6 separate regions of the Homo sapiens genome follow, and regions 1, 2, 3, 5 and 6 are each linked to region 4. The links are contacts of gene promoters, found by promoter capture Hi-C in blood cells and fetal thymus (Javierre and others, 2016). All regions are on one chromosome and are shown on one strand. Each heading gives the region's core, a stretch centred on a gene start or on the middle of the fragment in contact. The rest is flanking DNA. Distances are from core to core; before and after follow the strand shown. Region 1 holds the start of HERC5 (HECT and RLD domain containing E3 ubiquitin protein ligase 5). Region 2 overlaps HERC3 (HECT and RLD domain containing E3 ubiquitin protein ligase 3). Region 3 overlaps MMRN1 (multimerin 1). Region 4 holds the start of TIGD2 (tigger transposable element derived 2). Region 5 holds the start of SNCA (synuclein alpha). Region 6 overlaps PPM1K (protein phosphatase, Mg2+/Mn2+ dependent 1K).

Region 1 (3,671 bases), core at 614-3,113, 650 kb before region 4:
TAAAATCCAGGTTCTTGTCTCATGACCAGGAACAATTAGGCATGTGAATACATTGCAAGGTGAAGAGTGGCATTTATTAAAAGCTCTTAGCAAAAAAACAAGGAGGGTCCTGCCAACAGGCTCCCAGCTCACAGACTGAATAACAGGCCAACACACACAAGCTGAAGACTTCTTGCTCATCCCTGCTGCATAAGGCTGAATTCCCTCTGGCTGCACCCCACTCTCCTGGTGCAGTGGGCCCCCAAGTCCCTTGTGGGCATGCCCAGACAAGACCCTGGGCAGGCTTCCTCAGCTGCACAAAAGCTTGTGAGGCAGGTCAGAGATTCTCCAGGGACCCTCCCTTATCTGCCTCCAGCATCTATCGATACTATAAAGAATAATTCATTTTAAATATAATGAAGACCAACAATTATAAAACTTCCAGAAGGTAACAAATGAGGAAATCTTATAATCTTGAATTTAGCAAAAATGTCTTAAGTAGGACAAAAAAGGTATGAACTATGTAAAAGAAAAAAATGGATAAATTACATCAAAATTGAAAACTTCAGTGCTTCAAAAGACACTTAAAATGAAGAGGCAAGCCACAGACAGGTAGAAAACATTTCAAAACGTATAGCTAATAAAGAACATGGTATGAAACATATAAAGAACTCAATAATATATAAAGAACTCTTAGATAAAAAGTCAAGCTAGCTAATAAATAAATGGTCAAAAGATTTGAATACACACTTCACAAAGAAGAGATCCTCCTGCCTTGGGCTAAAAAAGGGCTGGGGTTACAGGCAGGAGCCCAGGCCCAGCCTTGTCAGTTGATTTTCGGTGACCCTTCAGAGGGCAAAGGGGAAGTTTTCTCCTGTTCCCTACAACCGACAGGCCCATCAATTGGTGAATGGATAAATAAACTGTGGCTTACCCATATGATAGACTACCATTCAACAATAACACAAATGAATTACTAATTAAACACAATAGTATGAATCTCAAAGCATTGTGCTAAGTTAAAAAAGCCAGACATCACTTAGATATGGTTCCGTTTGTATGCATTCTAAAAAAGGCCTAAAGCACATCACTGTTGCCAGGCACCCGGGAATACGGGAATACGTAGCGGAGCGGGCACGAGGGGGGTGGGGGTGGGGGTAGGGGTGGGGGGGAGGGTAGCTGCCTGCATAGCTCTGCCCAGTTTTATGCCGGTTTCAGCCCGGCGCACAACGCATTTTTTTTTTTGATACATAGTCTCGCTCTGTCGCCCAGGCTGGAGTGCAGTGGCGCAATCTCGGCTCACTGCAAACTCCGCCTCCCGGGTTCCCGCCATTCTCCCACCTCAGCCTCCCGAGTAGCTGGGACTACAGGCGCCCGCCACCACGCCCAGCTAATTTTGTTTTTGTATTTTTAGTAGAGACGGGGTTTCACCGTGTTAGCCAGAATGGTCTCGATCTCCTGACGTCGTGATCCGCCCGCCTCGGCCCCCCAAAGTGCTGGGATTACAGGCGTGAATCACCGCGCCCGGCCGCGGCGCACAACGCTTAACAAACTTTGGCTTCCGTTATCCCTCCCTCTGGAAATGCGTGTGTCAGGGTGCCTCCTAGTGGAACTGCAGCGTTTCCTCGAAAGCCATTCCGTCCAGGAGTTAAGGTGGCCGCTGCCCGCCCGGGGACACTTTCTCAGTCCAGCCCATCGGCCTTTACCCCAGCCAACGACCTGTTGCCTTTGGCCGCCTGCCAAGTCACTCTCATTACAGTTTCCTTTTCCTTTTCGATTCCGCCCCCTAAAAACAACAACAAACATTATGTTTCGTTTTCCACTGGAGCTGCAGGCCCCGCCCCCAAACAGCACGTGGGGGGCGTGGCGTCCCGGCAGGGGCTCAGTAGCTGAGGCTGCGGTTCCCCGACGCCACGCAGCTGCGCGCAGCTGGTTCCCGCTCTGCAGCGCAACGCCTGAGGCAGTGGGCGCGCTCAGTCCCGGGACCAGGCGTTCTCTCCTCTCGCCTCTGGGCCTGGGACCCCGCAAAGCGGCGATGGAGCGGAGGTCGCGGAGGAAGTCGCGGCGCAACGGGCGCTCGACCGCGGGCAAGGCCGCCGCGACCCAGCCCGCGAAGTCTCCGGGCGCACAGCTCTGGCTCTTTCCCAGCGCCGCGGGCCTCCACCGCGCGCTGCTCCGGAGGGTGGAGGTGACGCGCCAACTCTGCTGCTCGCCGGGGCGCCTCGCGGTCTTGGAACGCGGCGGGGCGGGCGTCCAGGTTCACCAGCTGCTCGCCGGGAGCGGCGGCGCCCGGACGCCGAGTGAGTGGGGCTGGTGTGTGAGGGCTGTGAGGGCTGTGAGGGGTGAGGGCTGAGGGCTGTGAGGGGCGGGCAGCCGGGGGTCCGCGCCTGAGGGAGGAGAGCCCAGAAGGCCGCAGACGCGCGCCTGGCTCGGATAGTTTCGCCGACGGCGCACCTGAGCTGTCTTTTATCCCGGTCAGTGTCAGGCGCGGGGTGAGCGGGATACTGGCGACCAGCGGATCCTCCGCTCAGCAAAGTGGCCGGTGCGGGGCATGCGGGCACCGTCTTCATCCTTTTAGCCAGTCTGGCTTTCTCATAGGTTTCTGTTCAAGTTTGTACCCCCGTCCCCCGCCCGCCGCATCTCCCACTGTCTCGTTTTGAGAAAGTAGTCACTGCTCCAACTTTGGGAGTCGTTCTCAGTGATGGGATTTTACCTTGGCCTTCAGTTGCACTTCTCCCACATTCTCATCGAAGTGGGGGAAATAGTTGCCCGCGTTCTTTAAAATTTTGCCCATCTGTGGAGTGAAGAAATTGGTATCTTGCTGCGAGTTTATTTTGCGTTTAACTACTGGACGTTTGCGTTCCTTTTTCGGTAAATTGCCTGTTTATCTTTGCCTGGCTTTTAGAAATTTGAGTTGTTAAATCTTTTTCTTATTTGTATGGAAGAGGTATTTGAATATTGAATAAGAATAGCCTTTTGCACGTCGTACATGTAATATTTTTCTCACTTTGCCTTTTGTGCATGTTGTTTTTAGTGCATTTTTTGGGGGGTAGTCTGTCAATTTTTTTGTCTGTTAAGGCTTATGGGTTTTATGTTAGGCTGGAAAGCTATCCACACTCCCAGTGTTTTAAAAAATGTACTCATTTTTGTAGTAATTTTAAGGTTTTTTTTTTTAAGTTAAAATTTTTCGTACGCTTGGAATTTTCAGTACTGAGGTAGGAGGGGAGCTAGATTTATTTGCTTTTCCAAAGGCTTAGCCTATGTCCCAATACCATTTCTTAATACTTCCTTTTTTTCAACTGATTTGAAATGCTGAGACTCTTTAAAAGAAACCGTTAGTCTGCTGGACCATTTCTTATTACCAAACTGTTTTGGTTCCCCTAGCATTTGTAATATGGTTTGTGCTTTGAGATTTTTACACGAATAGATTCTATTTCATTAGCACTGAAGATGAAACAAGGTCCCAAAACTATCCTAGTTTAATTTTTGTGAACAAATTAAATAAGAGTACATTTTTACTAGTGGACAGTTTAATCTCTTAACTTCAGAAAGGGCCAAATGTGCACTAATGCCAATGAAAAATGTTTTCAACAGCATCCTCTTTAAAGATAGTCCCCCAAACATAATCCTTCCTTTTAAGAATATAGGCATTGGTTTCTATTGGTAACTGTCGGGAAGTGTTTATTACTGTT
Region 2 (3,839 bases), core at 1,313-3,812, 510 kb before region 4:
GGAGAAGCAGCCATACTGCCTCAACAGCGCTTTGCATTTTTGTTTGTTTTGTGAAGTATTTGTAAGCATAAAATAATGCATGTCATATATGTTAAGAAACAACAATAAAAGGACAGAAGCAGAATATCAGCCATGCTATTGAAATGTCTCCCTTTGTGCTCCTTCCAGATTGTTCCCTCTATTCCTACTGCCTCCACAATCATTACCCGCTATTTTGTGTTTGTGATTTGCTTTTCTTCATAGCTTTGTTACCACTGATGATTCTTAATCTCCAAATAATATATTTGTTATAGTTGTGTTTGAATTTTGTAAAAATGCATCATACTCTGAATTCTTCTGTGACTCAACACTTTTTAAGATTTAGTTACAATGATGCTTATAGATGGAGTTTATTTTTTACTGCTGTACAGTGTTCTGTTTTATGCATGTGCCACACTATCTGTTTTCTTATTGATGGATATTTGTTTTTTGTTTTTTTCCTATTTCAAATAATGCTGGAATGAACATTCTTATACGTGTATCTTGGTGCATATGTTCATGAGTTTCTCACTGCATTGGACTGTAAGATAGCCACTAGTCACCTAGGGCTACTTACATTAAAATTTATTAAAATAAAATATTAACTATTTCAGTTCTTCACTTGTATTAGTCACATTTCAAGTACTCAATAGCCACATATACCTACTGGCTACCATAGTGGACAGTGCAAATATATAGCATTTCCATTATCACAGAAAGTTCCAAGTTTCCAGATTTTACTCATCTTTGTATCTCCATTTATTAGTATAGTACAGGAGCACCATAGATGCTTAATAAGTTGGATAATGCTGGTCATATGCCCAGCAGTGAAATTACTGTGTGGGGAGGTATCCACATCTTCATCTTCACTGGAGAATGCCAACTTGTTTTGCCAAGTGCTTATGCCAGTTTATATTCCCACCAGCTGTCTATGAGGGCCCTGGCTGTTGTATATCCTTGACTTGGTATTGTTAGACTTTTCAATTCTTGCCAGTCTCGTTGGTGTCTTTTGAAGGCAGTCCACAGCTTAAGCAGACTGCAGAGAAGTCATTCTTCCAGCTTCACAAAGCCTAGCACCAGGTAGTGAAGAAGGCACCACCTTAGAGGGGATGATCCGGGGAAGGGTAGGAGTGTTTCCTGTGTTGGCTGAGGGGGTCAGAGGACCAAAGTCCAGCTAAAGTGGAGGAGAGAGAAAACAGCAAGGAGTGGATTCACGTTGTTGAAAACTTCTCTTTGCCTTCTATGACATTTCTGTCTTTGGTAGGAACATTTTTGATAATAAGGCAAGTCATTAAAATGAATCTTCTTTGTTACCAGAGTTAATTCTGCATTTTAGTTTTGGCCCTACATTTATTTAAAGCCTGAATTTGGGGAGTATCTGCAAAGCACTGAAGGTTTTGGACATTGTCTTTTCCTGCTGTTGAAAGAGACCCTCTTCATATATACAACATTCAGGTAATTGCTTCTAAGCTTACTTGAAAGGAAGCTTATCCCTATTTTAAATGAGATTAGAAGTCCTGCCTGAGTGTTATTTTGGTCTCAGTGCCTTTCAAACAAAGGGATAAGAATGAGTTGTTAGGCTGCTGTGTGCATAGTCGCATAGTCTTATCATAAGACAAAGTTTAGGAACTGAAGGTTGTCGTTTAGCATTCAACTCACTAGAGCTAGTAAAAAGAGATTTATCTCCCCACCGCCCTCCACCCATGCCCTCTCCAGAATTTAAAAGCAAATGCACACAAAAAAACTTCCTCCTATCAACCTCAAATCCCTTTCATGAAAGTTATGGCAGATGGTTGTGATGCTACTTTGCTGTAGTGCAGATTTGGCAGAATGCAGCTAGTGCTAATTGCAGTGAGGAAGACAGGAGTCACAATCCCATCCTCTTTTGGGAATTGTCCTGTCTGCTGAAATCTCAAAGAAGAGCACTAGGAGTAGGAGTAACATTGACTAAAGCAGCTGACATTTACTGGTCACTTACTACTACATGCCAGGCACCATGCTAAGCCCTTTTTACATGCATTTTCTCATTAATCCTCACAACACTCTAGCACCTTCTCCTGATTTTGGAGCTTAAGGTGGGTAAACATCTTTCCTCAGGTTTCACAGCTAACGTGGTTAATGTAGGGCTTGGATTTTAGTTCCTTTGACCCTTAAGCTCTGCTAAGATTATCTTGAATCTCTTACCAAGAATAGATGAGAAGGACTCAGGAAAGTGCCAGGTTGACATTGAGAGAAAGTTGTACTTCAAAAGTAGTCCTTCCTTTTGTTTTGTCATGGGGAAATAAGAGGCAGGAAATGCAGCCAAGCGGGGCTGGTGTAGGTGCTGAGGGAAGTGTAGTCCTATATTTTGCAGCGAATTTCATAATTGTGTATTTTGAAGGAAAATAAAAGATTCTGCTCTTCTAGGAGCAAGCAAGAGAGTGAATGAGGAAAAATGGGTGTAAGGACCTTGGAGATCAAAATGCCCAGCGATGCAGACCGTTGCTGAAACTAGACCTTTAAAGTCATGGACATCAGCAGCTACAAGATTTAGGGGTCCAACTGGAGTGTACTTTGAAGTGAAAGCTGTGCTAATGGCTGGCTTCTCTCCAATGTGTTGAACTTCTCTCCTGAAAGCTAGATGATTTTAGTTGCTTTTTTCTTTAGTTCCGGCAGAGCATTGTGATGACCTAGGCCGTATTTATAGTTAGGATTGATAGTTTATTTACAGATACACATCTTTTTTGTGGTTGCTATTTAATTCTCTTGGTGGGCAGTTTTTATTTGACCAATTGAAGATTCCATTACTGTAACTCAGTTGGAAGAATTTTTGAAGTTTTCTTGAACAATAGTCCTTTTTATTATCTTTTTTCATAAATTGTTTTTACTAGTCAGTCAGGGATGAGGCCATACTTCAGGCTGTTTACACAGGATTGTGCTTGGCCAAAGCACCCAGAACTCAGATGACTCTCAAGGACTGACTCGTGCCAGATAAACTACAAAAAAAGCTGATAGACCCAGGACGCCAAATTAATAATGAGAATTAGAAATCCTAATAAGACTGAGATGCTTTGGTTACCTGGTCACAGTATTCTATCCCTGTAGTAGAATCTGCCCTAGAAACCAAGTTATTTAAGGTTGCTTGCTAAGCAAGGCAATTGGTTGGGTGAATTTAGTGACAACTGTTATGGAATCTGATCCACCCATCCACTTTTAGGAAAGAATTACTTAGCGGGTCAGATAGCCAGGTTGACTGATCAGGGTCCCTGTTTTCTCTGGAGAGTGGTGCAGACACATTGGGAAGTCTGGCCTTTTGGTTATCTACTTTCTAAGCTCCTTACTATACAGCACAGCATAGTGTCTCTTTCTTTTCCTTTACTTCATCTTTTTTTTGTTAGTTTCACTTTCTTCATCTGTAAATTAGAGATAATGGCAGTACCTGTCTCATAGAAGATGAAATGAGCCAACATCTGTGAAGCACATAGAAAAGTACCAGACTCAGAGTAAGCTCAAATCAGGTCTTATCTGCTGTTATTATTAATAATGTCATTATTAATATTATCAGTCAGGAGTTTCTTTTTATTGCAAGTGAAAGAAACCTGATTCAAACAAGCATAAATAAATAAGCTTAAGTAAACAAAGAAGGGACTTGTTATACTCTGTATATAGTTAGGTTCTGTAAAGTCATGGTGAATACCATATTAGTGAATACAGAGCCATTGTTTCTGAGGAAATACAGGATTAGGTTCTTGTAGGCTGTGGTCAAGAGATTTTTATCAGCCAGCTGACGCATAACCTTTTTTTATGTGTGTTTCTGTCTAGACAGCCTATTTAATATATAT
Region 3 (3,942 bases), core at 640-3,139, 800 kb after region 4:
TGAGATGAGCAGGTTGGATTTGCAAAAAGTAGTAAACACTTATAAAAAAATATAAGACTAACTTTTATATATTTAGGATATGTTTTCCCACTTATCACTGAATTGGGTGGGGATTTTATCACTATGGACTTCAGGAGTTTAGTGTAAAATGATGTACAACACTATTATTTCATAATTTTGCCATTAGTAATGGTCAAACAGTTAAGTTTTGTTTGGTTGTATTTTCATGCAATAATAATCTTATAATTAAGATGATAGTATTTTTCATGAGGTAAATTAGGAATAATATGAATAAATTATTCTCTTATGAGGGATCAATATTTTTCTCTCTAAATTAAGTCCCACCAGAGACTTAGTTCTTCCCCTGAAGCATTTATGAATTCATTAATGTATTCATATGTTGTCATTTGCAAACTGTAGTCATTTTTAAGTACAAGGTAAAGAAATGGACATTTGAGATCTTATACTTTCTCAAGTCAGAGACGCATGGGTGGGTATTAGGTGAGGTGTGAGGGGTTATTACTAGAGTCACCTGATAATCTTATTTCTTCAAGAGAATGTTAATTTTCAGAAGCAGCTATGTCTGTCTTGTCCTATTTTGTTTTCCTCTTGTTCCCTTTTAAATCTCTACGTTAAAGGGCATGATGGGAAACAAAGGTCATTCAATCCATAAAGTCTCCCCCAGAAACAAAATCTTCTCCCACTTCTCAAAGAAAATTATATACCATTGGCTTGGTTTATGGTGGCGATTTTATTGTCTTACCTTGACTTCTAATGAACATCCTCAGGACTTGGTATTTTCATACTATTGTGTCAATTAAAGCCACAGTTTATTAATATGAAAGTTTAAGTATTTAGCTTCTTTTGAATTAGATGACAAGCAATCTATTCATCTGGGTTCTAAGAACTAGTATAACTGAATAATGTTAGTTCTTAGATTATCCCTTTATTTCTTGGGAAAATATTCTGTGTGGTCATTATTTAAAGCCATCTTTTTTGCTTCAGTCCTCTCTCACTCAGTTCAGGATAAGAATTGGTATGACTGGGCCATTATTTAGTCAATTAATGGAAGTTTTTTACATTAGTCTTTTCACTAGTTTCCTGAAAGACTGAGTTTCTAAAATGTCAAAATAAAAAATATAGTAAACTGTTTATTTATGATGCCTTCTCTTAGTTCATTATCCACAAGTCTTTGAGTTTTATGAATCATAATAGAATCCTTTCCCCTCTCTATTTTATATGTTCAACAAGCTAGGCATTTGCTCATAACCAAAGATGTCTGCTTTTCCCTAGAACAAACCTTTTACCTATTAACTTGGAAAATCCAAAGAATCAATACAAGCTTTTTTTCAGTACATGTTGCTGCACAAAAGCAACAGAGTTATTACCCTGAAAGAGAATCCCAAATGTGGTCTGCTGGATGGAAGGTTATGACCCCATGGAAAACTAAACACTTCAAAGTAACTGCTCTCCATCCACCATAATCAGTCTAGAAAGGTACAAAGGATTACTAGGTTTAAGCAAAATGCTTGTCTGGGATCATTGCATTTGCCTTTAAACTGCCCATCACCATTTTGCCATGCTTCATTTTCTATTTTTAAACCTACATTTTCAGATAATTTGGCTTTAAAATTATATTTACATTTTTAATATCCCTTAATGAGCTTATTTCATTGGTAGCATAAACCTAATTATGAGTCACACCAGGGGCTCTTTTGCTGTGGATAGTTCTTCTAATTTACCCTGGATCAAAGATTGCTGGGCCATGAGCAGTCTGCTGATCTGCTTCTTTGTCTCCTCAACTATTTTAGTCATGAGATTGTTTTAATATTTAGGATTTCAAAAGGTCTCTGCCAGGTGACACTATCATTTTGCCTCACAGAGAATGAATATACTTTTTTTCTTTTCAAAGCCCTGAGCATGTAGTGACGGTGATACTTGTGTTGTTTCTGCCCCACACTCCCTCCTCCACAGTCATTCAGAGAATGTTCATGTGACAATTTAATTGTGCTTCTGTTGAAGTGAGTCAGTCTCAGTAATTAGGATCATCATTGCATTTGCATGAGGAATCTAGTTAATTTTTTAAAGATCCCTTTATTGTGGTCCTCTCAATTTTAAATCTTTTTATTTTTATTTCTTGCTTTTTCCAGTTCTTTGTTTTACATTATTTTTGCCTCAATTGTCACCAGTGATTTAACAACATGTGCCAGCATGTCTTCTTACTTCTTTAAGGGGCCTGAAATTTTAAACATCACATTCAAAAGAACACAATAAGTTCTGTAGAGCTCAATTTCTCTGCCTTAGATGAATGACAATGTGGAATGATTAAATCAAGCAATTAACATATCTTTTTTTCTTTTTATGTGTTGTTTTCTGGAATTTGTGTATGATGTACTTAAGTGAGGTTTTACTTTGTGTTTATCCTCTTGGAATTCATTAAGCTTCTTAGATATGAGGGTTGATTTTTTTAAAAAACAATTTTAGGAAATTTTCCCTTTTTTTCTTCTCATGTTTATTCTGCCCAATCTTAGGACCACTTCAGTTTTGCTCATTTATGTTTTTGAATTTTTTTCTCTGTACTTCAGTTTGGCTGGTTTCTATTCCTTATCTTCGAGTTTATTGGTCTTCCTTTCTAAAGTGTCCAAATTTCTGTTAAGAACATTCAGTCCATTTTTAATTCACATATTGTATACTTCTCGTTCTATTTAATGGTTAATTGTTTTAAAGTCATGGGTTGCTAATTCCAACTTCTATGTCATGCCTGTTTTTTTGTTTTTTTTTTTTCTATTTACTGGATTTTTACTCCATATACTGGTCCTGTTTTGCTGCTTTTTCTCATAGTTAGTTTTGTCTGCTTTTCATGCTGGGCATTGTGGATACTATGTTATTAGTGTCTGGATTTTGTTGTTTGCAAGCACAAAATAGTATTCAGTCCAAGATTCAAGGGCACCCCTATATTGACTTTTAAAATGATATTTCTGTCTGGCCCCCTCATTTTATTAATCTTTAACACATTTTTTAACCATCCTAGTATCCCCAAACTCAGATCTCTATTTTCTTTACTTGGTGTCTTTTCTGGAATCCATCCTTCTGTGATGCAGTTTGAAAATTGTTCCCAGGCACAAAACTAGATTGAATGTGGAGCTAACATCACATATTTTCCCTCAAGAATCATATCACTGCATTGTCTACTGCCCAACATCTGAAAACTGTTGCTTTATACATCTTGTCCAGATTTATAATTTTTGCCATAAAAGGTAAATCTGATAGTTTATATAGCCAGGGACAAAATTCTCTGAAATTTATGTTTTTAGTTTATTATATGAAAAATTATAGAATAAGCTCATTTAACTCCTTATATCAAGCTAAGATTTGTTGTGAAAATTCATAGAATTTGAAGATTAATTTGAGGAAAATTGACATATTTGCATTGGGTTTCCCATTAATTAACATGATTCATTGGCTTTTTCTTTAAAACTTTTCAATAAAGTTTAAAATTTTTACTTATTAAATCTAACACTTCTTTTGCTGAATTTATTCTTAGGTACATTATTCTTGTTGTTATTTTTTGCTACTGTTAATAGTGTCTTTTTTAATTTGTTGTTGGTACAGAGAAATGTAACTGATCTTAATTTTGTGATTGAATTAATATAAATTAGTATTGTATTAACTCATAAACATTTATATTTGATTACATTGCTGAATTGTCTTTTTAATTATAATAATCGGCATCTAGACCATTTTGCATTTTGTTTGGTTACAATCATATCCACTGCAGCTAATAACAGTTCTTTCTCTTCTTTTTTGATTTTGAAACCATTTATTTACTTATTTACTTATGCTTTACTGCACATAATTTAAAGTAATGGACCCGGATCTGAGTTTTTTATCTCAGTACTAATATTAATATTTGCTACAAGAGCATTCTTGCATTTTGATTTA
Region 4 (3,712 bases), core at 1,115-3,614:
ACATGTGCCCACCATTACAGTTGTACAGAGTAGTTTCACCACCTTAAGAATCTATTATTGGCCAGGCAGGATGGCACATGCCTGTAATCCCAGCACTTTGGAAGGCTAAGGTGGGAGGATGACTTGAGCCCAGGGGTTTGAGATCAGCTCTGGCAACATAGCAAGACCTCATCTCTACAAAAAATACAAAAATTACCTGGGCATGATGGCACGCACCTGTAGCCTACAGTCTCAGCTACTCGGGAGGCTGAGGCAGAAGGACTGCTTGAGCCTAGGTGGTTGAGGCTGCAGTGAGCCCAAGCCATGGTCGTACCACTGCACTCTAGCCTGGGCAACAGAGAGAAGCCCTGTCTCAAAAATACACATACATACACATACATATATTCTTATTATATATATATGTGTGTATATATACATATTCTTAACATTCTAAGTCCTCTCCCCCTTGTGCTGTAATATGTCTGCCACAACTAGCCACCCCTTCCCCCAACAAAAGGAGAAAGTTTGCCCAATAAAACTGTTTTGTGTAAAGACACAATTGCCTTGAGTAAAATCTTAGTAAAAGTCTACTAAATACAATTGCCTTGAGTCAAGCGGTGTTTTGAGAAAATCTAGAAATGTGGGCTGTATCCAGATTTGAACTTACACAAGGTGATAAAAAGGGAACAGCTATAAGACATAAAACAGCAAACTGGAGAATCCAGGAGGAACAGAGAAAAATGCAAATGGTATCTGGAAGAAAATTAAATCCTAGAGATACTGTGGAAAAGAGAGGAAGAGTAAGAGGCAGGATTCCTTTGTATTTAAATATCCTGGGACACAGCTACTCCAGCAGACTCGGGGGAGAGGCGGAAAGGCAGGCGGCTGACATCTGGTTACAGGCTGCCTCATTTCCACATGGGTGGCAGTCGGTAAAGTGCTGTTCTAGCAGTCTTTCACGCTCTTCACAGGTATCAGGGAAAATAAGAATATTTTGTAAAGTTATATAAAACTACCATGAAGTAAGTTATAATGTACCCAAAACAGGCAACCAGGACTTCCAGAAAGGGACTGGCTTGTTGGAAGCCAAATGGAAGGCAGGGAAGAGGGGAGGTCTAAAAGCAGGTATTCTCCAAAAGCCACTTACAACCTCACAACATAACTAGATCAAAGAATTTCTGTCATGCCAGATAGTGGAAGGCTGCTATGTTGAGAAAGGCAATTGAGCAGTTTTGGCGGCGGAGTCAAACAGAAGGCTTAGAATCAACATCTGTTTTCTACAGTATGCTCGCTTTGATTTCCATCTCCAAGTTTCTGAAATTCCAGAAACAGTATATGGCCTTGTCAAAGAAATGACGAATTACTATGTTACTTTGTGTTAACGAAAAGGTTACATTTATGTTCATATGGAAGAGATAATTCACTGAAGAATTTCCAATTTTTCAAACTGACACGCACACACAAGACGGAAAGGAAGGCAGCCTGACCGCGTTTCCCAGGAAACAGGTGGTGCAAGGTGGAGGTGCACCACTCTCTCCTCCAGGAAGGCGGTGACCCTTCCGCAGATGTCTCCGTTGGAAACAAATAAAGGGAGTATCAGTCAAAGCGCAATTCCCCGATTCCACTTGAGAAGCCCCGGGCGTCGAGGCACGGCAGGAAATTTACCACGACGCCTCCCACTGGCTCAAGGGTCTCCCAGGTGCTGTCGATTTTGCAAAGGGTCCGTCTCTACAGCGACTGTGACGAGTTTCGGAGCATCAGCACCGGGGAGCGCTGACCCGACACTCGGCTCTACCGCAGCCCGCCGCGCCTCGGCACCCTGGGCTTGTCCGGCTGGGTGTTGCCGAGCGAACGCCCCAGCTCCTGCCCGGAACCCACGTCCGCCGGCTCCTACCGTGCCTCATGATCCTCGCTCGGGCTAGCACTTTCCACGCGCGCTGACTCTGGGCTCCGACACCTGGACCGCCTCCGCAAGGCGGCGCGGCTGCTGTTTGTAAACACGCCCCACGTGCGCTCGCCCTGCCCCATTCGCAGCCCGCTCCCGGCACGCGAGGATCCTCCGCTTTCCCCCCAGCACTGGGGGGGTGAGATTTTAAAATTTCCCCCTAGGGAGAAAAGAGCCTCGTCGGCAGAGCCGGGCCACTGGGAAAAGCGCCAGGACAAGGCGAGCGTGTGCCTCCCCCTGCCGGCCAGGGAGGCACTGCGGCCCCGAAACGGCCAGGCGGTGAGTGGAACCCACGCAGCGCCTAGAGACGCACCCCTGCCGGGCCCCCGCCCCTCCCGCCCGCTCGCCGGAGTCCCCTCCCCCGGGCCGCGTGCGCTCACCCGCGCAGGCCCCGCCCCCTCGCCGGCACAACGTTCTGCGGGGGCGCGCGCGTGCTCTCTAATCCCCCGCCTTCCGGCTCCGGCGGCGACGCTCGTCCCTCTCCGCTCGTCCCTCGCCGCTGCCGGGCCACCAGTGCCAGCCTGCCTCAGGAGACTCCATTTGCGCTTAGTGTGGTCTGGGCGCCGCGCAGGCGGTCCCAGGGCGATGCCCGGGGCCGGCGGACTGGCGTTCCCTGTGCCAAGCGGCCGCCCGCTGGCTGGCTGGCTGCAGCAGTGACATCCTGGTCGCCGGCGTCCAGGCGGAATCCGGGCTCCCTCCGCGGGAGGAAAGACGTCCCGCGCTCTGAAGCTCGCCCAGCGGGGAGAGGCCCTCGCTAACACGGCTTCTCCCTGACCTCTTAATTTCAGGAGGTAGGCTCTTCAGGTCCCTCTCTCTGTCACCCCAGATTATGCCTGAAAGCATTATTTGTCGTATTTAGCTATCACATTGATAGGAGGCGTTAATTTTCTCAACATAGTTGCAGGATAAATGTGGATAATGCCACAGATCCTGATGTTGAATTGAAAGAAAATGTTTTTGGTATTTTCCTTTAGGTTTCGGAGCCTCCGAGTATCTCTACAGCCCCCACAGGAACTGCTTCTGTTGGTCCATCGAGGATCGTCTTTCACCAGGATTATTGTAACATCATCTTCACCGAGCCTGCCACCCCATAGCCTCTACCTTGGGTCCTCATTTCCACCGATGCAGTTTTTTTGATGCTTTCTTTAGTAATGTGACATCACATGTCCACTATCCTCCTTTCCAGCTGCCAAATCTAGTAGGTTTAAGTCGCTTTTAAAGTAGAGTTTTCTGCCTGTTCCACTTTCACCTTATTTGCACTGTTCACTTCTGTCCGGGTCATCTTCTCTTGCGTATGATTTCCACAAGCACTCACTTGCGCAACCTATAGCAGAGTCCGTGCCTAGAGAGACAGCATTCCATACAATCCACTGCTTGACAAAGACCACATAGTCAGAGGGTGAGTTTTCCCATTGTATTTTCCTGTATGTCAAGTTTGCAAGTCCTCTCTTGACTTAAACTGTTTACTCCCTAGCACATTTCCTAAAATACTTCCACCTGAGATTTAGTGGCTATTCTGGCAAAGAACATTACCTGCAAGGATGGCAAGAATTGAGTATGCAATAGTACTGTTTTAGAAGCCTTACCAGTACAGTTTCTAGCCTCTAGTGTGATTGCACTTCATGAAAGACCCTGAACCCTGAGGAGGAAGAAAGATAGAAGATAAGAGTTAATTGGCGCTAGGCTTTGTTGTAGGAAGTTTGTAAGTTTTAAAATAGCAAGTAGATTCACGTAGACCTTGTCAGGAAATTGGTCACTATCCATCTAGGCCCTAGAAGTGAGAGGAGG
Region 5 (4,046 bases), core at 161-2,660, 730 kb after region 4:
ACTGAAAAATCATGAGAAACCCTCCAAAGTGTGAGACTCTTTTAAGTGTACACTCATTTAACCATTGGACAAAGCAGACATTTTTAGCTCTGGCATTAAAAATTTAGCATCTCCCATCCATCTTGGCTAGTAAAAGTCTAGCCACCTAACCACGGATTAGGATGAATCCTCTGAGTTGTTATTACTGCATTTCAGAAGTGGAGTTGCATGAAAAGATTAACCCCTTTTTTAAATTCCCGGGGTCTAAAGGGTAACAGTATGAGTTAGAAGCATGGAAGCTGGAGGCTTAGGGTCAGGGGTATCCTTAACATGAATCCCAGAAGAAGGCTAACAGGTTGATGGTGGAAAGGCGTAGGCAACAGAACTAACTGCTCACTCGGGGTGTGGTTCAAACTCAGGCAAACAGCAGGCCCAAGTGTGATGGTTCTAATCCATCCAACATCCACCCCCGCCCTCAGCTATCTACCCTGAGCAGGCGCCGCTCACACTCGCGGGCCGTCTCCAACCCCGCGCCAGCCACCCGAGGGGGCGTTCTCAGCCTCCACCCTAGCGGACCCCGCGCCAGCACTTGTTAACCCGTTACCACCTGTTGACTTGGCCTCCTTGCACTTCCATTTCATTATTTGCCAAACGCAGCTTGCTTACTTTACAGAGAAAAACCAAGAGAGCGGGCAGACAGATTTTATGTGAGAGAAAAGTTGGATGCTCACGCTCCATGGAGCATCCTCGCGTTTCCCGGGGAAAAGCGGATCCCGGAGAAGCAGCCTAATCTCTCAGCCCTTGTGGAGAAGGGAATATCAGAAGCAGGACGAAAGCCAGGTCAAGTCTCTTTCCTTAGGCTCCCCAAAGGGACAAGTACTCACCTCCCAGAGACCTGGCCCAGCGGGTCCTCATGGCAGCACCACCCCCTCCCGGTGCCCACGACCATTCGTCTCCCATCCGGCGTTCTCCAGGATTTCCAAAGACGCCCGTTTAGATCCACAGGTACTTACCTGAGTCCCTCTGCTTCTCCACAACTCCGACTCCTCCCCGCCTCTCTCTTTTTTTAAAAAAAAAATTTAAACAATTCCCAAATAATATTTAATAGGAAAGAAGAAGGAAAAGGAGCGCACAGGAAGGGCGGAGGCGGCACCCGGGGGGGACTGTCCCCAGAGGAGGCCGCTGTGAGCCGGCGACGCGAGGCTGGGGGAGTGGGAGGCAAACCCGCTAACCTGTCGTCGAATGGCCACTCCCAGTTCTCCGCTCACGAGGGTGGAAAGGCAGAAGGCTTGAAGGCAAGGCGTGAGGGAGCGCCCAGGACGCTCTCGGAGGGGCCGGGCCGGGGTCTGCGCTGCAGCCCGCACGCACCTCACTTCCGCGTCGCGGCGCTCGGTCGCTCGCCCCCTCTCTTGGGCCCCTTCTGGTCGTCGCCGTCCTCCTCCTCCTAGTCCTCCTCCTTCTCCTTCTCCTCGGCTCTCCGCCCCCACCGCTGATTTGTCAGCGCTTCTGCCCGCCCCTCTCCCGGCGCTCGCTGCTTTCCCTGCAGCGTGCTCCTCGTCCCTATCTCGGATGGGGATGGGGCAGGGGGCGCGGGGTGAGCCATCAACTCCAGCCGCCTGCCTGGCCGCGCAAGGCGGGAAAGTGGGGGCGCTTTTGCGCCTCACGTTAAGTTTAGGGTCACGAGCACTCTTGTGGAGATCGGGAGCGGTTGGGCTAGGGATGATGCCTCTTCCTCTTTCCCCTTCCCCTCCCTTCTTGTCCCCGCCTTTCCTCTGGGTCCTCCCGGGGACCACCCCCTACCCCTCGTCAGAGTCGCCCTGGGAGAGCCGAGGGCCTGAGGGTCGACCACCAAGGGCAGAGCCTATCCCTTGGGGAGCTGCTGGAGGAGACAGGCAGCGCCGGGAGGTGGCTCACACCGCACCGCCGAGAGCGCTTTGCCCTCGCATCGCTGAAATTTAATCACGGTCACAGGTTACAACGTTAGGGGTCGCTTTAGTTCAAATATCTTCAAGGTTTTCGTTTGCTCTTAATCTAGGAAGAGCCGGAAAGGGTCCTGAGGGTGAAAGGGAGACTACTAAGGAAGAGTCACAGGTTGAGGAGGCAGGAGAAGGCTCAGCAAATCCTCTTTCCACGCCACTATCACCATTTTCCTTTCCACCAATCAGCGCCTGCCAGACGCTGATTTTCCCATCAGTGGAACAAGGAATAAATATTCCCCAGCCGTCTAAAACAAGCGGTCCTAAGGCTTTTCGCTCTAGAAATGGGACTTACTTTGCAGACCTCCCTTTATCTGGGAGACAAATCCAGCGTGATTTAGCCTACCGGACCATCATATCCAATTTCTTCTTCAGCCCCTTCTGAAAGGGAGATGCTACACACCACTCACCTTTCTGACTTCTGATTCTCGTTGCCCTCAGAATTGACACCCCCTTTTCTCTCCCCCCACCCACCACACGCACATGCACACAGACATACACACGCGAACTTCAAGACAATTTTTGCATCGCTTAACACATTTTCACCTCTTTCAGAGCTGGAAGACAGCTGTTCCTGGATCACACCAGAATGGAGAAGCAAGCTCCTCCCACTAGCAGAAAGCCTTTGCTTTCTGTGCCTGGATTCGGAAGATTAGTTAAGCACTGGAAGAGGAGGGGGGAAACAACAACTCGTTTTTGCTGTATGTTTTTTTTTTAATTGTTTTTATATTTATAGAAAGTTATGCTTTGTCTGATTCTTGCGCTAATTTGGGTTCTGAAATTTGAGTAAAATCAAATTTAAACATACAAAACAACTTTAAAACCACAAGGAACAGGAAGCAAATGATTATACATAAAAGACATATAGAAGATAATGCATATGTGTTCAGTGGAAAATAGAAAAGCATGAAAGTAAGATCACAAATATTTATTATTTAAACTCTTCCTTGAACTATTGGTCTGCCCTTTGGAAAAGCAGACTTTCCTTAATGCAGTAGCTCATATTAATATTTTTTGTTTGCTTAGGACCAGAGCAAGAAGGTTGGACTTGGGAGCTAGTTTGCTGTCTGGCTTTGAGACCTTGAACAAGTTTTGTTCTCCTTCTGTTTCCAGTTTTCTTTTTTGTAAATTAGGAGATTAACTCATGTGATCACTCTATTTTCAACTTTTTGTTATGGGAAATATTCAAACATATGCAAAAGTAGACAGAATAAAGGACTCTCATGTGAAGATCATCCAACTTTTACATTTTTTCAATGCATGGCTGATCATGTCTCATCCATAAGTCCACTCACTTTATCACTACCAATCCTCCCTCTTTTTTTTTTTTTTTTACCAAATTCAAGCTTTATATATATCTTTTCAGCTGTAAACATTCAGTATGCATCCACAAAATTTAAGGACTGTTTAAAAATAACCACAATATCATTAGATGATTCTTTAAAATTGCAGTGTAATTTACACCTAGGGAAATGCTCAGATGTTGTGTCCCTTTAAATCAGTTTTGAAAAAGCCATGCATTAGTGTAACCCACACTATTTTGAAGACACAGGACATTTTCATCATTCCAGACAGTTACCTTGTACCTTCATGTGCATATTCTAGAATGTCATAAAGATCTAATCACGTAGTATAAACTTTGTTTTATATTTGTCTGACTTCTTTTACTCAGTATAATATTTGTGAGGTTCGTTCATGTCGTTGCATGAATGGGTGTTTTGTTTTTTATTGCTTTTTGTTGTTTCTTTTTACTACTGTTAATAGTATAAGTTTTCCATTGTGCCTCTTTACAACTAGTATCTCAATAGAGTATTACAACAATTATTTAATATATTATTTCACATGACATATTTATAGTATAACCATGACCTCCTTGAGACCTAGTGCTTTAAGTCAAAGAGGTAAATAAAATGAGATATTTTAGGTCTCATTACAACAGACCAATGTGAGAGAATTATTTCTGGACAGTTGCACTTCTTATAAACGTTTAACATGATTCCAAACTTTTATTTGGTAATTTGTTAGTCCTTTGGCAAAGGACTAATGTACTATGTTATTTAGTCATAACAAGCAGATCAATTACATTTTATG
Region 6 (4,029 bases), core at 1-2,500, 830 kb before region 4:
GGAATGTGATAGTTTTACATACCATCAGCAGACAGGCGGGCATGACTCGAAAAGGCTTTATCTATTTCTAGAAAAGCCAAGGTCAACAGAGTTTCCAAGTTCTTCTCCTTAGGAAGCAAATCCCTTTGTGGGGAGGAAAAAAAGAGCCTTAAACAATCATTTTACAATAGGTTTTTCTCCTCACTGTTACTCTAGCTAGCAGTCATTCCACACAACGGGCCTCAGGATTTTCCTGTCAAATGCTGAAGACCTACTGGCTAAGGAATACCTATTGAGAATCCACAAAGTATCAGGCACTGTGATAAGCTTTTAAGGGCACAACAATGAAAGTCCAAGTCCTTGTCCTTGAAGAATTGATCCTCACTACCACAACCCTGAGAGGTCGAGAGTTCCTTCCCATTGTGAGTTCTTTCGTGGAATGCGGTATACACAGGAAGTCAAGAAATGGTCACTGGGAAGTCAAAAATAGTCACATGGTCGTAACTCCATCACATGTTCTCCCTCTTTCAATTTTAGCAGTAATGTGATCCTCAAAAATGCATTAATACTAGTTGAAGTAAATAAACGGAAGAGCTCCAAAATGCCTGCATTAAATGCATTTTTCCACACTAATGCCAATCATCCAAAGCTATTTTCAACAAGTCAGGTATTCAAAGCTATTCACACCACTTGAAAGAGTAATTACCATTTACTGAAGCACTTATCTGTCCTACACTGATGGGAGTAAATGCTTCTCATAGGTTATCTCATGTACATTATGCCACTTCACTTAAAATGATCACAAATTAAGTGCTATAGATTTTGGTTAATGCTTTCCCCAGGGGAGTTGTTAAAACATGCATTTCTGAAATTGTGATAACCATAAGTAATAAATGGCACACTTAAACTACTGCTCATTCGTGAAGCAGCAGCATGCAACCACTCAAGTAACTATGTTTACGCTGGAAGCCTCAGCCAAAGGGTGAAAGTTTAAGTAGGAAGTATAGGAACTGCAAAGTCAGGAGTGAAAGTCATTGTACATACATAATACATTTCTCCATGTGGGTATGACAGAAATCAGCTGCTGCAGGTCCACCGTGTCCATCATACACTGCAAAGTACAGGACCTCATCTGTCAGCTGAGCGAAGTCAAACCGATCTTCATTCTCTTTCCGTTTGCCAATCTGTGAGGCGCACCCCACATTTTCCAAGCTGATTTTGGGAATTGGCTTGCCATACTTAATGCTGGGTGGCAGCAGAATTGGCTCATCAATGCGGTTATCCCAGATCCCAAAATTGTCCCAGGTAGCTGGACTCCCACTACCATCTGGGTCAAACCGAGAACACCTAGGCTCTGAAGTGGAGCTGTGGCACGTGGGTGTCACCCGCCTGTCGTCCTGCAGCAGGCGGGAGCTTAGCAGCACTCTCCTTCTCACCTGGTTCCCACCACTTCTGACCAAAGTAATTAAGGCAGCTGTTGACATAACTCAGCTCCAAAGGACTCAGTGATGAGGGAAAGGTCAATGGAACAATAATGGAATGTCTTCAAGAAAAATGATGCAAGTCACAGGGGACAGAGGGAGAGAGGGGCAGAGGAGGAGAGGGAGAGAGACAGAGAGAGAGAGACCATCAGAAATTTTGAATATAACTGATATGTCATCAAATATTACCAAAAATGAAGCTCATAAAGGATTTGACAGAAAATACATATATTTATGTTATATATTGGGTAGGCATCCAGTAGCCTGCTTCTAAGAACAGTGGATCAAAAATGAATCGATTTTCCTACCGCATTCACAGCATTTAAATTCTATAAAAATTTAACAGTGTGCACATACACAGAACATGTATCTCTTAAACTTGAACCTGCAATCACTTGTTAAAATGCATGTTCTGACCCAGTGGCTATGGGGTGGAGTCACTCTGCATTTCTAACCAACACCCTGGTGATACAGAAGCTGCTGGTCCCCAAGTTACACTTCTAGTAGCAAGAACACAGAATACAGGTATAAATAAATATACTTCCCTTCATTAACTCTATTGCTTTAAAGAAAAGGTAGGGATAAATATTAACAATAGCAACAAAGTCTCTTCAGGAAAAAATAACAGGCTAATAGAATACTTAAAATAGTTCTGTTTCCAAAGAATGGCCAAGTTTTAACAAAAACATAATCTAGGATAAATCTAAGTTTTATTTTAACATTTCTTAACCTACTAAGCTTTACATACTATATTACTATGGTAAATATAAATTGGTGTGCAAACACCCCAGAGGCACAAAGATAAGCCAGTTTTGATGCTCCCCATCCTAGCAGACTCTCTCACTAGGAGGGTATGTGGGTATGATCTCAGGAACCTGGCAGCACTGCATTTGTGACAAGCAGCCCTGATTTCTGAACGAGTGATCTATATATTTACATTCACAGCTGCAGCTCTCCTTTCCCCAACCCTAACAACCCAACGACACTTGAGACTACACTTCTTTGAAACGATTACTTTACACCCCCATTTCTGGACTCCACCCTGAAACTCAATCCTAAAACCTCTCTTGGCATTACAGGGTGTTACCCAGGGGAACTCCTACCCCACTGCAGGTAGAGCTGTTTCTGGGAATTTTCCACACAAATAAAAAATTTGTCTCCATAGGATTTTGTTCTATTACTTTATTCTTTTAAAATCAACTTGAAAAGATGGCAGAATACTAAGGTTTGATGATGTTGGTGGATGGTCTACAGATAGTATATTATTCTCAATCTTATGTTTAAATTATTTCACAATAAAAAATGAACTTGAAAAAATGTATCTTTCCAAAAGGTATAAACATACACAAATGAAACCCAGCTTGAGTGCAGTTATGAGAAAATGCACTACAGATTTCAAACAATTACTTTCCAATGAATTTTTGGAAATCAGTCTAGCTATGTATAGGGAAGGCCATTACTTCTTTCGGTGGGTAAAACAGTCAAAAGAAAGAATGAGGTTCCAAAGAACATCCTTAGGTGTTTATTTGTTTTAATTTCTTGTAGATATGGGTTCTCACTTTGTTGCCCAGTCTGCTCTTGAACTCCTGGCTTCAAGTGATCCTCCCACCTCAGCCTCCCAAAGTATTGGAATTACAGGCATGCGCCACAGAGACTGGCCTCAATCTTTAGATATTTAAGCAATTAAAAAAAATATGAGCTCTGCTGTCACAGAATTTAGAATAAAGATGGCCACCAAAACAAGTAATGTATCATCAAAGACTTAGGAAGTCATCCCTTCTTGGCCTTTTGGCCAAGATCCTGCATAGAAGGCTGAAATTCATTTCTTCGTAAGACAACATTGTTGGGGGGTTGGAGAGTGGCAGAGACACAGCATCTCTGGTTATCAAAGAGAATTAACATGGCCGGACCCGGTGGCTCACACTTGTAATCCCAGCACTTTGAGAGGCCGAGGTAGGCAAATCACTTGAGGCCAAGAGTTGGAGACCAGTGGGCAACTTTGCAAAACCCTGTCTCCACTAAAAATACAAAAATTAGTCAGGCGTGGTTCCGCATGCCTGTAGTTCCAGCTACTAAGGGGGCTGAGGTGGGAGGACTGCTTGAGCCCAGGAGTTTGAGACTACCCTGGGCAACATGGTGAAACCCTGTCTCTACAAAAAGTACAAAAATGAGGTGGACAGATTGCTTGAGCCTGGGAGGCAGAGGCTGCAGTGAGCTAAGATCACACCACTGCACTCCAGCCTGAGCAATGGAGCAAGACATTGTCTATTTAAAAAAAGAGAGAGAGAGCGAGAGAGAGAAATAACACATTCCATTGCAAGAGATGTTTGTTCTTTTGCTTCTAATTGAGAGTTAGATTTTATTCAGCAACAATTATGGATTCAAGCCAGCAATGGTGTGTTAAAAAAAATTTAAAAACCCAATTATGTTAATTATAGGTGATGAATTGAGACTTCAAACTACAATACAATCTACCAGGTAATGGAAGTACTAATTATTTGGAGATAATTCCCAAAGCAGCTTTATATCATATAGAAAAAAAAAAGAACTTTAAAGAAATACAATTATT

Evidence for each region. The method cuts DNA at HindIII sites, captures the fragments that hold promoters and counts their contacts. A CHiCAGO score of 5 or more calls a contact.
Region 1: a contact is called between the fragment with the promoter of HERC5 here and the fragment with the promoter of TIGD2 in region 4, in 7 of 17 cell types (naive CD8 T cells, total B cells, total CD8 T cells and 4 more). The highest score is 7.2, in naive CD8 T cells.
Region 2: a contact is called between a fragment that was not itself captured here and the fragment with the promoter of TIGD2 in region 4, in 1 of 17 cell types (fetal thymus). The highest score is 7.5, in fetal thymus.
Region 3: a fragment that was not itself captured here is called in contact with the fragment with the promoter of TIGD2 in region 4 in 1 of 17 cell types (total CD4 T cells); the score reaches 5.2 in total CD4 T cells.
Region 5: a contact is called between the fragment with the promoter of SNCA here and the fragment with the promoter of TIGD2 in region 4, in 14 of 17 cell types (total CD4 T cells, fetal thymus, monocytes and 11 more). The highest score is 21.2, in total CD4 T cells.
Region 6: a fragment that was not itself captured here is called in contact with the fragment with the promoter of TIGD2 in region 4 in 1 of 17 cell types (total CD8 T cells); the score reaches 5.2 in total CD8 T cells.

Annotation. Positions count from the first base shown.
Region 1 is chr4:88,455,256-88,458,926 of GRCh38, forward strand. It overlaps HERC5 (HECT and RLD domain containing E3 ubiquitin protein ligase 5), which reads left to right and starts at 1,864. Exons shown (of 23, transcript NM_016323.4): 1 at 1,864-2,279. The coding sequence starts at 2,015. All of the region lies in intron 1 of LOC102723458 (a long non-coding RNA gene), which reads right to left. RefSeq lists an enhancer at 1,494-1,923. The HindIII fragment of the contact is 3,677 bases long and covers 302-3,671 here.
Region 2 is chr4:88,596,615-88,600,453 of GRCh38, forward strand. All of the region lies in intron 2 of HERC3 (HECT and RLD domain containing E3 ubiquitin protein ligase 3), which reads left to right. Among named protein-coding and RNA genes, the nearest start is that of HERC3, 6.1 kb to the left of the region's middle. The HindIII fragment of the contact is 2,120 bases long and covers 1,503-3,622 here.
Region 3 is chr4:89,905,058-89,908,999 of GRCh38, forward strand. The region is part of intron 1 of MMRN1 (multimerin 1); the gene reads left to right. Among named protein-coding and RNA genes, the nearest start is that of MMRN1, 12 kb to the left of the region's middle. The HindIII fragment of the contact is 1,099 bases long and covers 1,341-2,439 here.
Region 4 is chr4:89,109,169-89,112,880 of GRCh38, forward strand. It overlaps TIGD2 (tigger transposable element derived 2), which reads left to right and starts at 2,365. Exons shown (of 2, transcript NM_145715.3): 1 at 2,365-2,715; 2 at 2,899-3,712. RefSeq lists enhancers at 1,873-1,982, 2,013-2,092 and a silencer at 2,173-2,622. The HindIII fragment of the contact is 10,355 bases long and covers 1-3,712 here.
Region 5 is chr4:89,835,751-89,839,796 of GRCh38, forward strand. It overlaps SNCA (synuclein alpha), which reads right to left and starts at 1,411. Exons shown (of 6, transcript NM_000345.4): 1 at 1,212-1,411. It overlaps SNCA-AS1 (SNCA antisense RNA 1), which reads left to right and starts at 651. Exons shown (of 4, transcript NR_045481.1): 1 at 651-984; 2 at 2,511-2,656. The HindIII fragment of the contact is 7,659 bases long and covers 1-3,299 here.
Region 6 is chr4:88,277,121-88,281,149 of GRCh38, forward strand. PPM1K (protein phosphatase, Mg2+/Mn2+ dependent 1K) reads right to left here. Exons shown (of 7, transcript NM_152542.5): 2 at 1,024-1,522; 3 at 23-123. The coding sequence starts at 1,463. Among named protein-coding and RNA genes, the nearest start is that of PPM1K, 5.4 kb to the right of the region's middle. The HindIII fragment of the contact is 1,892 bases long and covers 305-2,196 here.